2 separate regions of the Homo sapiens genome follow, and region 2 is linked to region 1. Evidence: promoter capture Hi-C in 16 types of primary human blood cells and fetal thymus (Javierre and others, 2016). All regions are on one chromosome and are shown on one strand. The core of a region is centred on a gene start or on the middle of the fragment in contact, and the rest is flanking DNA. Distances in the headings are between cores, read along the strand shown.

Evidence for each region. The method cuts DNA at HindIII sites, captures the fragments that hold promoters and counts their contacts. A CHiCAGO score of 5 or more calls a contact.
Region 2: a fragment that was not itself captured here is called in contact with the fragment with the promoter of FAM83G in region 1 in 1 of 17 cell types (naive CD4 T cells); the score reaches 5.1 in naive CD4 T cells.

What each region holds. Positions count from the first base shown.
Region 1 is chr17:19,003,084-19,006,909 of GRCh38, reverse strand. It overlaps FAM83G (family with sequence similarity 83 member G), which reads left to right and starts at 2,146. Exons shown (of 6, transcript NM_001039999.3): 1 at 2,146-2,201; 2 at 2,741-3,390. The coding sequence starts at 2,869. All of the region lies in intron 9 of SLC5A10 (solute carrier family 5 member 10), which reads right to left. RefSeq lists silencers at 160-454, 1,975-2,274. The HindIII fragment of the contact is 3,596 bases long and covers 701-3,826 here.
Region 2 is chr17:18,895,771-18,899,596 of GRCh38, reverse strand. The region is part of intron 8 of PRPSAP2 (phosphoribosyl pyrophosphate synthetase associated protein 2); the gene reads right to left. Among named protein-coding and RNA genes, the nearest start is that of PRPSAP2, 40 kb to the right of the region's middle. The HindIII fragment of the contact is 1,815 bases long and covers 1,246-3,060 here.

The DNA of each region.
Region 1 (3,826 bases), core at 897-3,396:
GGTATATCCATACCATGGAATACTAGTCAGCAATGAAAAGCACAAACCATTGATCCATGAAACAACCTGGATGACTTGCTGGAGAATTATGCTAAGTGGGAAAAAAGGCCAATCCCAAAAGTTTATATACTATATCTTCCATTTATATAGCATTCTTGAAACAGCAAAATTGTTGAATTGTAGAATAGATTAGTGGTTGCCAGAAGTTAGGAATGGTGGTCGGGGGAGGTGTGGGGATGGCTACAGAGAAGGAGATCTTTGTAGTGACAGAACAGTTCTGTATCTTGACTGTAATGGTGGTTACACAAATCTATACACATAATAAGGTTGTATAACACACATAAATGAGTGCATGTAAAACTGGTGAAATCTGGCCAGTGCAGTGGCTCACGCCTATAATCCCAGAACTTCGGGAGGCCAAGGTGGGAGAATCACTTGAGGCCAGGAGTTTGAGACCAGTCTGAGCAACATAGTGAGGCCTTGTCTCTACAAAAAAAAAAAAAAAAGAAAAAAGAAAAAAGAAAAAAAATTAGCTGGGCATGGTGTCTCTGGTCCCAGCTACTCAGGAGGCTGAGGCTTGAGCCCAGGAGTTCAAGGCTGCATTGAGCAATGATTGTACATACCACTGCACTCCAGCCTAGGTGACAGAGCAAGACCCTGTCCCAAAACAAACAAAAAACTGGTGAAATCTAAATAAGCTTTGTGGATTGCACCAGTGTCAATTTTCTGGCTGTGATATTATTGTATTATAGTTATGCAAAACGTCGCTACTGGGGAAAACTGGGTGCATACAACCTTCCTGCTCATCAACTGCAGAAGTGTTGGGGTGGTGGAGGTGGGAGTGAGGCCTTGGACTCCCTTCCTGAACTCTCCAGCCTCTGTGCATTGGTAAGAACACAGGGAGAAGCTGAGGCGGCTCAGAGAAGGTCTTACAGGGGATCCACAGTAGCAGAGGGGCTATAAATGGGTCTTCAGGACCCTCAAGGCAGGGCTCCCCCGCTGGGATCACCTCCCCTCTCTGGCCCTGGGGCAGGAGGAGGATGCAAATATGTGTGCCTGTTCCCCAGGGGCCACTATGTTCAGTAGCATAAAGCCCTTGGGGGGCTATATGGCAGAGTGTAGGACTTCATGCTTGAGGGGTCAGTGATGGGGACCACAAGGATGCTGGGCCTAGGAGGCTAGTCATTGCCCAGGGCAGTGGACTCAGAGGCAAGGAGTCCTGATGGGCCATGAATGGTGGAGAAGGCCTTGGAGGGGGGGGGTTTGAGGGCACAAGGCCTAGAGATGTCACCAGCCTACGGAAGCAGCATCCTTACGGGACCCAAACCAGCCCCATCCAGATCCAGAGCAAGTATGGGGGATGGGAGGAAGGGCTGGGCCTGGTGCCGGGCAGACTGGCTGCGGCACGCGATGGGGTGGGGGCTGTTTGTTGGGCCAGATTTAATGGGCTTTGCTGTCCCACCCTCAAAGCCTGCCTTCAGATGTGGTCTCCACGCTCCCCATAACCAGGGTCCCAACCCCAGGGGACGCTCAGCAGAGAGCTGGGCCTGACCCCAGCCCACAGCGGCCCTCTTGGCCCCTCCCTGCCCTAGGGTTCAGGTCGGGTGCTGCCCGCCACGCAGAAGCAGTCCGGGGACCCCTCCCAGAGGGGATCAGGGCTTAGGACTGAGAACTGGGTATCTGCTCAGGAAAGCCCTGAGTTTGGGTCAGTCAGTGCCCTATCCCTGCCTGGGGGCTCCCAGCCCAGTACCCTAGACCTGTTTCCACAACTGGACAGCTGGGTATCTATACAGCCGCACGGACTTCCCGCCACGCCGGCGAAACTGGGCACAGCCAGGGTTGATCCAGGATCACCAACAGACCCTGGGGGCACAGGGGGGTGCCAAGGCTGTTGACCCGCTGTGTGACCTCAGGGAGAACACTGTCCCTCTCTGGGATGGGTGTTCCAGGAGCTCTTGGGCTTAGGCCTCTGATATTTTCGGAATTCGGGCACCAGGGGACCGTGGGCAGTGCGTCCGCCCCAGGTCTGTCTGTCTGTCGAGGGGTGAATCAGCTTCCGGCCCCGCCCCGGGCGGCACGTGACCGCAGGTGGCGGCGGCGGGGTAAGCGGGGCGGCCCTGAGTCACCGGCGCGCCCCCGCCCAGCCTCGCGCCGCCGCCGCAGCCGCCGCGTGTGCGCCCCGCTCCGCCAGCGCCCGCTCGGTAAGCAAGTCCCGGCCGCGCCCCCCGGATCCCGGGTCTCGCGGGGCGTCGCCGCCCCGCAACCGCGTTTCTGGGTCTCCTGGACCCCTCCCAGAGCCCCAGCCTCCTCCGGGCAGGCCTCCTGGGTTGCCGGCACCCGGAAATTTTAAGACCCCTCCCTTACCCGGAAGCCCTCGGTTTGCGGGGCGCCTCTGTGCCGGGGCCGCCTCCCACTCTAAGAAGCTACTGGGAAGTTCCCCGGCTGCCCTAGTTTCCCTCAGAAGTTGCGAGGACTTCAGGCAGCTCCGGAAATCTGGGATATGGGTTCCCTGCACGTAGAGGCACGCTGAGCCCTGGGACGTGGCCCACCGCTCCCTCACCGCTGTTCCGATCCCTTACTTTCTTCCCATCCCAGTCCAGTGCCCCCACCTCATCTTCCCAGCCCCAGCCCCAGCCCCGTCCTTCCCACGCCCACCTGAGTTCCCGGCCCCGCCCCCGCCGCCCCTCCCCGCGCGGCCCGCCCTCCCCGCCGAGCCGGGCTCATCAGGTCTTTCCCGCAGATTGCTCATGGGCAGAGAAGCAGAGGCCGCGGAGAGGCCCCCGAGCGCGCGGTGCCCCAGCTGGGCCGGAGCTAGGAGCTGGACCTTGCCCACCCACCCCCGGCAGCAGTGCCCGGGCAGGCGGCGCCATGGCCTTCTCTCAGGTGCAGTGTCTGGACGACAACCATGTGAACTGGCGCTCCAGCGAGTCCAAGCCTGAGTTCTTCTACAGCGAGGAGCAGCGGCTGGCGCTGGAGGCCCTGGTGGCCCGCGGCCGGGACGCCTTCTACGAGGTGCTCAAGCGGGAGAACATCCGAGACTTCCTCTCGGAGCTGGAGCTCAAGCGCATCCTGGAGACCATCGAGGTGTACGACCCGGGCTCTGAGGACCCTCGGGGCACGGGCCCCTCTCAGGGGCCCGAGGACAATGGGGTCGGCGACGGCGAGGAAGCCAGCGGGGCGGATGGGGTCCCCATCGAGGCCGAGCCGCTGCCCTCCCTGGAGTACTGGCCCCAGAAGTCGGACCGCTCCATCCCGCAGCTGGACCTGGGCTGGCCCGACACCATCGCCTACCGCGGCGTGACCCGGGCTAGCGTCTACATGCAGCCCCCCATAGACGGGCAGGCCCACATCAAAGAGGTGGTGCGGAAGATGATCAGCCAGGCACAGAAGGTGAGGCAGCGCGGGGACTCCTGGAGCCATGGCCCAACCAGCCACCGGACCCCTCTCAATACAGGCTCACTCAGAGCCCAAAACGGGAGCCCAACATGGGCTTCTAGGGATCTCTGCTGTTTTCCCTGGCTGCCTCTTGGGTGGAGGTTTCCTCCCCACCTTCGTGGGGATCCGCAGTTTCTTTGCAGGGTAGGGTTCCCAGGTCCTAGCAGGTGACAGTGGGCTGCCCCGTCTCAAAGGGCCTCTTTATTGTTGGAGGGTGTTTCTGGTTCCCCAGAAGAAGGCACCGAGATAGGGTGGAGTGGGGAGGGGAGGAACCCCAGGGCTTCCTCTCACTCTCCCTTAGAGTGGCTCTGATTCACTGTAAAGGCGCGCACACACCATGAGCTCTCTGGTGGGGAGAGCTTTTGTTGTGGGGTGAGGGAATAGGCATGGT
Region 2 (3,826 bases), core at 904-3,403, 110 kb after region 1:
TGATCATACCACTACACTCCAGCCTGGGCAACAGAGGTGAGACCCTGTCTCAAAAAAAAAAAAAAAAAAAAAAAAAACTCAGTTGGATATACTCAACAGCAGAATGGAAGTTACAGTGAAAATAATAATGGAGGTCAAGGAAAGAATCAGTGAACTGGAAGACAGACAACAGAAATTAGCCAATTTGGACAACAGAGAGAACAATGGCTGTGGCAGGGCATGGTGGCATGTGCTTGTAGTTTCAGCTACTCTGGAGGCTAAGATGGGAGAATCACTTGAGCCCAGGGGTTCAAGACCAGCCTGAGTAACATAGTGAGACCCACTAAAAAATAAAAATATAAAAGACTAGAAAATAAAAATAAACAGAATCCCATGGACCTGTAACAAAAGATCAGCTGGGCACGGTGGCTCACACCTGTAATCCCAGCACTTTGGGAGGCCAAGGTGGGTGGATCACCTGAGGTCGGAAGTTCAAGACCAGCCTGACCAACATGGAGAAACCCCGTCTCTACTAAATATACAAAAGTAGCTGGGCGTGGTGGTGCATGCCTGTAATCCCAGCTACTTGGGAGGCTGAGGCAGGAGAATCGCTTGAACCCAAGAGGCAGAGGTTGCAACGGTGAGCCAAGATCACGCCATTGCACTCCAGCCTGGGCAACAAGAATGAAACTCCATCTCAAACAAACAAACAAACAAACAAACAAACAAACACCTGACATTTATGTCATAAGAGTCCCAGAAAAAGAGGAGAAAGACGGTAGGACTAAAAAAGTACTCAAAAAGACAATGGCTGAAAGCTTCCCAAATTGGTCAGAGACATAAACCCACAGCTTCAAGAAGTCCAGCAAACACCAAACAGGATAAACCCAAAGCAATCTCAAGATATATCATAATTAAACTTTTGAAAACTAAAGACAAAGAAATAATCTTGAAAAATAATTCATGATAACCAACTTCTCATCAGAAACCACAGTGACCAAAAGAAAGTGACACAAAAACTTTTCAGGTGCTGAGAGAAAAGAACCGTTACTCCAGAATCCTATACCCAGCAACGATGTCCTTCAAGAATGAAAAGGAACTCTAGACATTCTCAAATGAAGGAAAACCAGCAAAATGTGTTACCAACAGAACTATTATTTAAAAGCGGCAAAAGGAGGTACTCTAAACAGAAAGGAAACAATAAACTAAACTTTGGAATATCAGCAAGGAAGAAGGAAACAAAAATACCTGTAAATATAATAAGCTTTTCTTCATTTCTGACTTTTCTAAATTATGTTTGATGTTTAAAAGCAAAAATTCTGGCTGGGTGTGGTGGCTCAAGCCTGTAATCCCAGCACTTTGGGAGGCCGCGGTGGGCAGATTGCGAGGTCAAGAGATGGAGACCACCCTGGCCAACACAGTGAAACCCCATCTCTACTAAAAATACAAAAATTAGCTGGGCGTGGTGGCGCTCGCCTATAGTCCCAGCTACTTGGGAGGCTGAGACAGGAGAATCACTTGAACCCGGGAGGCGGAGGTTACCAAGAGCTAAGATTGCACCACTGCACTCCAACCTGGTGACAGAGCGAGACACTGCCTCAAAAAAAAAAAAAAAAAAAAAAAAAAGCAAAAATTCTAACAGCCTGATACTGCTATAAATGTATGTATAGAAATATTTAAGACAAATATATTAAAAACAGGGGGAGTAAAGAGACACAGAGAGGTATGACTTCTATATTTCACTCAGGCTGATAAAATGACATCAGTATATTGTAATATGTTTTGTATATGTAATAAAATACTTAGAACAACTATTAAAACAGCTATATAAGGTGATATTCAAAACACTATAGAGGGCCGGGCGTGGTGGCTCACGCCTGTAATCCCAGCATTTTGGGAGGCCAAGGCAGGCAGATTACCTGAGGTCAGGAATTCCAGACCAGCCTGGCCAACATAGTGAAAACTCCATCTCTACTAAGAATACAAAAATTAGCTGGGTGTGAAGATGGGAGCCTGTAATCCCAGCTACTCAGGAGGCTGAGACAGGAGAATCGCTTGAACCTGGGAGGTGGAGGCTGCAGTGAGCCAAGATGGCACCATTGCACTCCAGCCTAAGTGACAAGTATAAAAATCCGTCTAAACAACAACAACAACAACAACAACACCACTATAGAGAAGCACCACTCTAGAATGGCAGAATAAGGACCCTAAAAAATCTGCTCCTCCATGAAAGAAAGAAAAACTCTAAAAAATTTTGCAAAAATTAACTTTTACATAACTGTGGAAGTTAACCAACAGCTTGCAACAATCTGAGGAGTGTTTAAGAAAAACAGCTGAATCTTGTTAAAGAGCAAACTTTGGGCTGGGCATGCTGGTTCACGACTATCATCCCAACACTTTGGGAGGCTGAGATGGGCAGATCACTTGAGGCCACGAGTTGGAGACCAGCCTGGGCAATATAGTGAGACCCCATCTCTACAAAAAAAACATGAGAATTAGCCAGGCATGGTGCTGCATGCCTGTGGTCTCAGCTACTTGGGAGGCTGAGGTGGATCACCTGAGCCCAGGAAGTCCAGGCTGCAGTAAACCATAATGATGCCACTGCACTCCAGCCTGGGCATCAGAGTGAGACCCTGTCTCAAAAAAAAGAAACTGTGTGTGTTTTAACTTGCCCCATTCCCATTATTCCATTATTCCCATGCCTCTCTCTCCAGTTCTGCAAAAGACAAAAATTGGAAACCTCATAATCATGGTGGCCATGAGAAACAGAAGACTAGCAACCACTGGTGGGAAAAGAACAGGTTTGGAGCTTCTCAAGAAGCCCATTCTCAGGTAACCATCACTATTATGCCTATCTGGCAGCTTGCTGAGACTCAGGGCTGGAGAATATGATCAAACTTAGAGTCACTCTGTGTGAATAGTCCCATCCCCAGAGTAGATGAGCAATCAACAGCAACTGTTTAACACTGCAGCCGCCTGAAGTGACAATACCAGTTGAGTAAAACAAGGGGCTAGACAAAAAAAAAAAAAAAAAAAAGGAAAATCTGGGGAATGAGATGGCCACATGGGCCTTGAAAAGCTTATTCCTGCATGTAAAGAACATGCGCTTACCCAGGAAGGACCTGAAAAGCCCCTAACCTTGAACCTTGGCTGACCTTAAGGCTCTGTGCAACCAAGAAGTAAAGGCTAAGGCAGAGTTGTAAGCTGCTGGGAGAATTGAAGACATGCACAAACACACACACACAGACCTTGAAGAGAGTGGGAGATTTATTGCTTCAAGGCATTTCAGGAAATCTCTGTCCAATCATTAGCTGGCCAGTAAGCTAACCAACCAGAGACTTCAGTGGCTGAATGCTACAAAGAATACAGACTTTACAGAATTGGCACAGGGTGGCCACTAAACAAACATATCACAGAAACAACAGCAACAACAAACACTGGGAATTGGTGGAGGTAGAATCTGATGCTCAGATTTTTCACATTACATAATTTAAAATGTTGTTTTTAACTAAAATGTACAAGGCATGCAAACAAAAAGGAAAATATGGGCCGGGCATGGTGGCTCACACTTTTAATTCTAGAACTTCAGGAGGCCCAAGGCAGGAAGATTGCTTGAGGCCAGGAGTTTGAGACCAGTCCAGAAACACAGCAAGATCTTGTTTCTGTATTCTTTTTTAAAGTAAGAAGTTTTGGCCAGGCATGGTGGCTCACACCTGTAATCCCAGCATTTTGGGAGGCCAAGATGGGTGGATCACCTGAGGTCAGGAGTTTTGAGACCAGCCCAGCCAACATGGTGAAATCCCGTCTCTACTAAAAATACAAAAATTAGCTGGGTTTGGTGGCACAC